Linked DNA regions of Homo sapiens: region 1 is linked to region 2. Evidence: promoter capture Hi-C in 16 types of primary human blood cells and fetal thymus (Javierre and others, 2016). All regions are on one chromosome and are shown on one strand. The core of a region is centred on a gene start or on the middle of the fragment in contact, and the rest is flanking DNA. Distances in the headings are between cores, read along the strand shown.

Region 1 (4,974 bases), core at 225-2,724, 1.0 Mb before region 2:
CGGCCAGCCTGGGCGCCACTCCTCCCTGCCTTGCCACTCAGCTCCTGCGTCTCTGACATCTTTCCCACCTAGGGACTCCAAGCGTCCCCTGACTCCTCTCTAGCTTGCCAATGTCCCTCCCAGACTGTGGCACCACTTGGGGTCTGATGAAGGCAGGGGACCAGGGGTGCTGAGCTCTGCGGTCTGAGATGCCTGGTTCCCGTGATGCCTGGAAAAGTTCCCCGCTCTGTGGCTTTGGCCGGCCCTGCCATGCTGACCACGGGTGACGCTCCAGTCGGCCCTGACACATAGTTTGTTGGCCGACATCGTGTTGTGTATTTCTCAATACAAAATAAAAAATGTTAAGTCTCACTTAGCAACTATACCCACGTGCCCACGGCCTCTCAGCCACCCTCAGAGCACTGGCGACCACAGCGAGCTGGGCAGCAGGGATCCTGTCCACCTAGAGCACCTGCCATGCGTGGGCTTGTGCTGGGACACCATCTAGTGACATCTGCTCTGGAAGAGGTCAGGAGAAAGGACCAGGCTCAGGGCTGTCCCCGACGTGCCTGGAACTAGCGTGTTCATAATGAAAGGAGATGTCTGTGATGAGAGGAAGGCAGGAGAGTAACCTCCAACTGCGTCCTTTTTAGGATGGCTCACAGGCCACTTTCCCTCACCCCAAATTGGAAGGTGAAGAGTGAAGGGCAAGTGCAAAGTGGGGTCATTTCAAGCTCATCCGTCCCGAGTCCGACTCTAGCCGTAGGACACAGGACAAACGCTTCGCACTGACCTCCGCCGGGATGCTGGGGACGGCGGGCGCGATACCGTTCTCCGCGCTGACGCTCCCGGAGCTGTTGTTGGGTGAGCTGGGTCCGGAGCCTGGGGCGCTGCTGCACGCGGAGTCTGCGGAGGCAGAAATACCCTGGTGAGTGTTACTCCATGCGGAGGGAGGGCCGTGCTGACCTGTGGCCCGAATGCCCGGTGCCTTCCACGGACCTGCTCGTTAGCTTGCGACAGGCAGAAGTCCCAACAAAAAGAACATGGCCATGGTTTCAAAAAAGAAAGTATGATGCTGATTTCTGATTTTCCAGTTTTGCCACTGACTTCACTTTTTCTAGGACATGTACGTTACCAATTTTATACCTCGTTTGATTTTCAAGACAATTTTAAACACCAAAAAGATAAATCCTTAAACACTTATTAGTGACCTAACAACAGAAGACCAGAAAATGCAGAAGCTAAGTGACTTTGAAAAGCAAAAGGTCAGCTTTCCTGTGCTCACTATAAAAAGCTTAGTTCAAAATAAAGCAACCTACTATTAGTGTTCACTCTGAGCTGAATCCTCTCATTTTCCCTACATAGCAGCAAGCATCCAGGGGAAAATATAGCCAGTGTCTCCTGAGATCTATCCGTGCTACTGGAAAACACACGCTCGGACAGTCTTAGAGGATCTTTAACCATCGGTGCGGCTTGACCCTGGTTAATGAGACCAGGTTCCGCTCTGACTGAATGTGACTTCCAAAAGGGGCCACGTCCAATCCAAAGATCCCTTCACCTCTGAAGGGGTCTGCTGCTATTTTGGGCACACACATCCACCGTGGGAGGCCGCTGAGGCTCTCGATATTCACACAAGGATTTGTTTGGCTTGTCATATGTTTAGTTTAACGGCATTTTAACAATGGCATCATCTGGTTAAAGCTTTCCAAAGAAAACACAATGTGACCCATTTGCCTCGAGAACTCTAGGCGTCTGCTGTTCAGCAACGACTCTGGGTGCTCAGAACCTCGCCCCAACCTATATGCGCAGCGCATACAGGTCAGAAGGAAGGGACATGGTGGGGGCCCTGGAGGGGAGGTTAAGGGATGTTTTCCCCAAGCAGCCCCTCAACGGAGCCATCCCCAGCAAAGCCTCCTCCACGGTCTGCTTGCTGCCCGCGTCCTCCTGGAGCCCACGAGGACGCAGGTGCCCACTCATGCTGACTCACGTGGTATCCACGCCTGCTGGAGGTGGTGACTCTGCAAATATAGCCCCGAGCCACAGTGAGGAGGATGAGGAGGGTGGGGGAACAGGTAAAGCCACCCACAGCTCCCCCAACCTGGCAGACCTGATTCCAAACTTTGCCTTTATTAGCTCATCCATCTCTCAGTCACTGTTTGAGGAAGGTGCCATTATGACCCCGTTTCCCAGAAGAGGAGATGGAGGCATGGAGCAGCAACATCACTCGTCCCAGGCCACGTGGCTTGAGGGAACTGTCATGGGCGTCTGCATACCAGAGTTAACCCAGCTGGGTGGTGAAGGCGCACCTCCTCTGTTGACCACGCTGCCCACCAGGAACACCCTGGGAACATCTTGCCCTCAACAGCAGGGCAGTCTAAACCTCCCAAGGGCAAACCAGGGTGTCCACCCAGAAGCCCTACACCAGCCGCTCCCCATGGCTCTTGGAGCTCAAAAGAGTGTGGGGTCAGCTCACTGTCCTGGGCATTGAGCATGAATACAGGACTGGGTCCCGACCCTACCCCATCCTCTTTCTTTCCCTGGCCCTCTCACCCTCTCACTTCCACCAGACACTAACTCCAGAGGTAGGCTTCTCCCGCTGCCGAGGCCATGTTATTTGCACTGTGAGTGGGCATTCTGAGAATGCCACCTGGGCTGAGCCAGTGTTTGCATTTCACTCAAGAAAGCAGGACCCGCCTTCTCCAGGCCCCTCCAACTCTCCCATCTCTGCCCCACCTGCAGCCCACCGTAGCCCACCCTAGACCCCTGCTCTCTGATGTCAAGCTGTCTCCAGCTACACACCAAGATCCAGCAGATCTTCCCTGTAATGGGTGCCTCCCAGCTGTGTCGTCAGATAAATACCCTCACGCATGTGCCTGGGGAGTCCGGACAACTTTTTGGGGCGGTAAAAATTATATGTGTAACTTTCCACCCACTTTTAACTCAACGAGGTTAATTTTATTTTTTTGCATTCTACTTCCAGGAATAGGTCTAAGAAAATTCATATAAATGCATAATCTTCATAGTATTACTTAGATCAGCAAAACGGGAACACCATTGGAGGTGCTCAAAAGGCGTGTGGCTGAAATTGAGTGGAGAGGGATGCAGGATGGCGCAGGAAGATGGTGAGAACTCAGCTGTGAGGAAGGCGCAGAACATGGGCTGCGGGAAGGCGTGCAGAGTGAGAGAACTCAGGTGTGAGGAAGGCACAGAACACGGGCTGCGGGAATGTGCAGAGTGAGCAGGATTCACTCTGGACAGAGTGCGTATGGGAATGCATTTTCTTCTTTGTGCTCTACAGTAGACACCCAATTAATTAGTGACTGAGAAAAAGCAGAGTATCCACCTGGCTCTCTTTCTGCCAAGAACCGCGACTGCCTCCACCGCTCCATATGGGACCACCCTGCCTAATACCTGTCTTCTGGAAATCGGCTCCACTCCTCCGTGTGGGACCACCCCGCCTAGAACTCCTAATACCTGTCTTCTGAAAATCAGCTCCACTCAGAGCAGCCTCCCCATCGTGGCAGCTCCCTGGTACCAGTGCCGGCCAGGAGATGCACAACCCTCTGCCTCTCTGCCCCAGCCCCACTCACCCGCCAAGTCCCAGTGCAAATGCCACCTTCTGCAGAGCTCTGCTGGCTTAGAGTGGCTTGTGCTGATCTCCCAACTCCTAGGTGCCTCGGCACGGGCTCCCTTTATGCCACAGCTCAGCACTGATCACGCCCTGCCACGCATGGCTCCTGGGTGAGCTCAGCACTGATCACGCCCTGCCACGCATGGCTCCTGGGTGAGCTCGGCACTGATCATGCCCTGTCACACATGACTCCTGGGTGAGCTTAGCACTGATCAAGCCCTGTCACACATGGCTCCTGGGTGAGCTCAGCATTGATCACGCCCTGTCACACATGACTCCTGGGTGAGCTCAGCACTGATCATGCCCTGTCACACATGACTCCTGGGTGAGCTCAGCACTGATCACGCCCTGCCGCATGGCTCCTGGGTGAGCTCAGCAATGATCGTGCCCTGTCACACATGACTCCTGGGTGAGCTCAGCACTGATCACGCCCTGTGACGCATGGCTCCTGGGTGAGCTCAGCACTGATCAGGCCCTGTCACACATGACTCCTGGGTGAGCTCAGCACTGATCACGCCCTGTCACGCATGGCTCCTGGATGGTCTCACGTGTGATGTGCTGCTTGCTCAAATTACATCACAAGCTCCTTCCAGGGAAGGACTCTGTCTCACTATTTTTGCGCCCAGCCCAGTGCTGACTCAAAAACAGCACTCAGTAGTCACTGGGTGACAACAGGAACACCAGCTTTAACACTCAGAAGAAGCTTGCTGAAGACTCCGTCTCACCCACTGCACACTTTAAAAAAAAAACAACAAAAAAACGCAAAGGTTCACGTGTCCATTAGAGCTGGCCAAGCAAGGCACTGCTCATAGGAAAAAAGGCTGCATTGGAGTTTGAAAGCTTTTAACTCACATGATTCCTCGTTTCAACTGAATCTTCCCCAGTCAGCTAGACTTAGTGAAACTTTAGATCATAACATTTCTTGATGGCTGTAGAAAAGGTCTGTGTGTACTATAATGGCCAGAGGAAAGAAACCTACATCAGAAATGACACATATGGAGTTCCCCTGGGCATGAAGATGTCAGATACTTTTTAATAGAAATCCACAAATATTCAGACCCAGACCCTTACACCGTGGTTAGGAACTCCTCAAGTAGAGAGGGGACAGGGCACGAGAAACAGGCAGGGCCCTGTATTTAGCGGGTAGGTCTGGCTCTCACCTCACTGCTGAAGCAGAGTCCCTGTGTGATGCCAATGCTCGCACACACGGGGCATGGCACCAGGAGCCCCTCCCCGGCTTCCCTAGGTCAACAGCCTGCTCAGTGGAACTGTGCCTTTCACAGACCACCTACCATGAGCCTTGGCCTTCAAGTTGAACACTTTCTGTTGTGCAAACATGTCCGCTGCCTCCCCTCTATCCAGGC
Region 2 (4,518 bases), core at 865-3,364:
GAATGATTTTTAAGGTCTCTCAAGGGCTTCTGTTCCTTGATTCCTGTCTGCCTTTAAAAAAGAAACCTACCACTGACCTAAGCACCACTACTTCTCTGTGCCCCTCAAGGAGAGCTTTCCGATCCCTCGCCGGACATCGCCAGAGGCCACAAACATGCGAAATTGAGCCCATCGCCTCCACTCAGGATCCCTTCCCTCTCTCTTCTGGGAATGAAACCACTTCCCCGAGGAAACTGACCTGCTCTGCCTCTGAGGTTCTGGTGCCCCGCTGCTATCATGGACCGTCCACTGCCACAACTCCACGGCAGTGGAAAAACCATGTCACAACCCAAGCTGGGCAATCTGAAGCCCTCAGGATTTTGGGTCCTGTTTAGAGTCAACCGGTGACAGAGGGAGCAGATTCCTCTGACAGCAGCACCCTGGACAGCTGGCCACAGGTCCTGCTGCTGCCCTGGCCCCAGCATTCACAAGGCCGCTTGCTCAGACCTGCCCTGATCCCCACATAGCTGCATGCCCTTGTTCCCTTTCAGACACTCTCAGAAAAGCCAGGACACTCAGTCTCCTCCCCTGGCTTCTCAGCCACCCTCCCTGTCCCCATCAGCACAGTAAGCCACGCGCATTCTACCACTTGAAGCTTGTCCCTACCTCCATCTGCCTCATTCACACCCTCTTCAACTCTCCTGTTCTCCCTGCTCTCATTTTTCTACCCTCTCACCCGTAAATGCTGCCACCCTACAGAGCAAGTCGGAGCCTCTCACTCCCCACTGTAAAGCCCTCCGGTGGCTCCACATCGCCTAGGACTGTGAAGCCTAGGACTGTAAAACAGGACTGAGAAGCCTGGGTTTAATGGAAGTGCTTCGGGAGCGGGGTGCACAGAGCCACCCTCTTTAGCATGGTTCCAGATGGTTTCACGATCTGGGTAGGGAGAGAGTCCCTACCCACTGTCTCCCCTCTCTCTGGCACTGCACGCTCAACCATGTTAAACGACACAACATTCCCTTCCCTTGGTGAGCCAGTCGGCATCCCCCAACCCAGGGCTCTGCTCCTGCCGGGCCTTCATCCCCCACTACCTGGCAAACACCAATGTGTCCCCCAGCATTTGGCCACAGAGTCGACTCCTCAGCTGTACCTTTGCTGAGCCCCCTCAAAGCCCTGAGGGTCCATCCGTCGGTGCGCCTTCGGCTTTCTATGACACCTGGTATTTGCAATCAGCCGCTCTGCCATGCTATTACCTCCACAAGCACAAGGGCTGCCTCTGACCACCTCTGCAGCCCCTAAGCTTTGAGAAAGAGCACATAAGGCCCTGACATGTAGGAGCTGGCCTGCCACTCTGAGCTAGGCTGTGGTGCTCTCCTGCTGACCATAAACCATCTCAGAACGCTCACATCAGACAAGGTCACTCTGTGAACACAATAGAGACCAACAAAACCCCAAGACGACTGTATAATCCTGTATAATTAAAAAGAAGAACGAGGCCACTACGCAAAGCACATAAATGCCAGATGTCTCCTTTTCCGCTCCGACAGGAATGACGGCTGCTCCAGTCTTCCCTCATTCTAGTTAAGATTAAGAGGCCCAATCGGAGAATTATCCTCGCTTCCAAGGCACAGTAAAGCCCACTTTCTTCCCCCAAATCCCCTAACACGAGCTCAAATCCCACACGAGGTTATGGAGACGCACCGCGGGCCCCCATGGGGTGCTGCAGCCATCGAAGAGCAGCAAACGCAACTCCTCTGACCACGGGTGTGTTCCCGGGGGCCGTGGGGGCACCCAGCAGGCACTCAACCCTCAGGCTGCGCCTCCTGGTCCCCCGGGCTAGGGCACACGCTTCCCGCCGCGGTCGGTCGCCGCCTTTCACCAGGTGCTCGGAGAAACCGGGATTTGCTCTCCGCGGGGCAGGGAGCCTGGGAGCCGCGCCCATCGCCCACCCGCCCGGCCTCCCCTCCCCGGGACCCGCGCACCAGGACGCCGCCCTTCCGCTCCCCCTTCCCCGCTCCCCACGCTCGGAGACTCCCGCCGGGCCCGTGCCACCTCGTCCAGGTCCACGTAGGGCCCGGCGCCCTCGGGGAACATCTCGTCCACCGCCGGCTTCATCTCGGGGCCGCGGCGCTCTAGGCTCACTTCCGGCCTCAGAGCCGCTTCCGGCGCGCGCCACATGGCAGATCTAGACGCCGGAGGACCGCGCCTCTGTGGTGCCCGCCCGCTGGGGTGCTCCCGGCCGCCGGCGCGTCCGCGGCCACCGGCGTTTGTCTTTGCGCTGGCGAGGGCGGGCGTCTGCAACGCCTCTGATGGGCGGCCGGGCGGCCACGGGGAGAAAAGGCTGCCAGCAATGGGAGCAGTGCCTGCAGAGCACGCCTCCGACCAGAGGCCGGATCCAGAATAAAGAAGGAGCCTCAGACTCTGCCGCAAAGACGGCCGGGTTCACAGGAGCCCAGGGCTTGACCTTCAGACGTTTGTCTGAAGAAGACACACTCGCGGCCAGTGAGCAGATGAAGAGGTGAAAGCAAACCAGGGCCCCACGGCCGCTGCACCCCTGGGACGCCCAGAGTCAAAAAAACAGCAAAACACGGGTGGAAGGGTGCGCGGCACACGGGGCCCCTCGCACCGCGGCGGGGAGTGAGACGCGGCAGCCGGGGCGGGAGACGGGGGGGGGCAGGTCCCAGAAAATCAAACACGGACACCCACGTGGCCCAGCACTCCCCTTCCGGGCACAAGCCCAGAGGACCAAAAGCCGAGGCTCCAAGGGGCGTCTTTACCCCACGTTCACAGCAGCGTTATTTATAATAAATGAAAAAGGGAAGCGTCCCCCGCTGTCCCTGCCCATCGATGGATACGTGCATAAGCAAATGTGGGCCATGCACACTGTGGAACATTACTCAGCCTTTAAAAGGAAGGGAATGCCGACACCTGCTGCCACGCGCAGGAACATTGAGGACGCTCTGCCGAGGGAAACGGGCCAGTCCTAAGACAAACACCGCATGATTCCACTCAGCCGAGGCCCCTAGAGGAGTCAAAGTCATAGAGACAGAAAGTAGAAGGGGGTTATCAGGGTCTGGGGAAGGGGAAATGGGGAGTTCGTGTTTAGTGGGGACAGATTTTCAGCCTTGACAGATGAAAAGGATCTGTAGAGGCTGCTGGTGATGGCTGCACAGTTCGTGAATGTGCTTAACGTCACTGAAATGTGGTTAAGATGGAAACAATTTGTGAAGTTTTACCGTAATGAAAAAAACAACAAAAAAGAATGTGACAGAAATGCGAGGGAAAGGAGAAGGAAAGGGGTAAGAGGAGGGAGAAGGTTGGAGGAAGAGAGGGAGAGAGGAAGAACAGGGGAGGGAAGGAGAGAGAGCAACAGGTCCTGGAACTAGACTTTGCCAAAGATTCCTTGCTCAGCCAGACTTCGGTGGCCTCCTAACCTCCTCCCAGGCCCATCTGTGCACTGCATTGTCAGGTTCAGTTTTCGCAGAGAGCCCTGCTAAGTTGGTTTAGCCAGAGCCCCCCACCCTGGATATTGGATCGGGTTCCTGGTCCCCCAGCATCCCCAGGATGTCTGATGGCCCAGACCTGTCTTCAGCGAAAGCCCTGCGGGGTCGGCCGAGCCAGCATCCCGTCCCGCACTGTGTTCCTCCCAGTCATTTGCCACCCGCGACCCCACCTGCTCCTCAGCCGCAAACCCCCACTGCCTGTGCTGTTCGGAGCTGAGCCTGGTCTCCCTCCCCCACTGCAAGATCCCGTTGCAGTGGTCCCCACACCCGTCTCCAGGGTTCGGAACAACTTCTGAAAATTTCCAATAATGTTTTCCTTTAACAGGCCTTAGAGGAGTTGGGTTTGGGGGTTAGGCTGTAGAGAAGGGGAGTGGGGGGCGGCATGGATGAGGGTAGTTCCAGGGACAGGAATTGAGCTGAAATGTGAGGGGTGTGTGTGGCCTGAAAAGGGGCCGCCTGGCCTGAGTGGACAGTGTGGGACGCAGGGAGAAGCTGGCAGTGGATATTGGGTGAGCCTCATGCCATGCCAATGTGCATCACCCTGAAGGACCCAAGTGAAAGTCAGTCCGATGGAACAGGGGCTTGGCAGTGACTAAGAAGATTGACCCATTAAGTCAAGGTCTTTACTAGCTAAGGGGTGGAGCTGTGGGTCTCCACGGTCTGCTTGTACACCCTACAGGGATGGGGGGCTCACCACCTGTGCAGAGGCCATCCTATTGCTGGAGGCCCATCCCTGAGACACCATCGTGCTGCCTGCCCAGTCTTCCAGTGCCCCAGGTGAAGCCCCCTTCCTCCCAGCATCCTCAAAGCCTAGAGCCGTCCCTGGAAGACAGAGCCTGCCCAGGCCCCGCTGTCCCTGACCGATGACAGATACAGGTGGGGTTTCTCAGTTCCGTTTCCTGCTGCCTCCTGGGCACTGCTCCCAGGGGTGTGTCATGGTGTGGAGTCAGCCTAGCCCTGACTGTGGGTTTGTGTGCTGCCCAGCTTAGTGGCCCAGAGCGGGGGTGCCTGGACTAGAATCTAGCTACCCCCTAAC

What was found. The method cuts DNA at HindIII sites, captures the fragments that hold promoters and counts their contacts. A CHiCAGO score of 5 or more calls a contact.
Region 1: a contact is called between a fragment that was not itself captured here and the fragment with the promoter of COPS9 in region 2, in 1 of 17 cell types (non-activated CD4 T cells). The highest score is 5.7, in non-activated CD4 T cells.

Annotation. Positions count from the first base shown.
Region 1 is chr2:239,138,912-239,143,885 of GRCh38, forward strand. HDAC4 (histone deacetylase 4) reads right to left here. Exons shown (of 27, transcript NM_001378414.1): 9 at 773-885. Among named protein-coding and RNA genes, the nearest start is that of HDAC4-AS2, 52 kb to the right of the region's middle. The HindIII fragment of the contact is 407 bases long and covers 1,272-1,678 here.
Region 2 is chr2:240,134,191-240,138,708 of GRCh38, forward strand. COPS9 (COP9 signalosome subunit 9) reads right to left here and starts at 2,115. Exons shown (of 3, transcript NM_001163424.2): 1 at 2,032-2,115. The coding sequence starts at 2,094. RefSeq lists a silencer at 1,927-1,976 and enhancers at 2,417-2,516, 2,527-2,636. The HindIII fragment of the contact is 4,227 bases long and covers 1,278-4,518 here.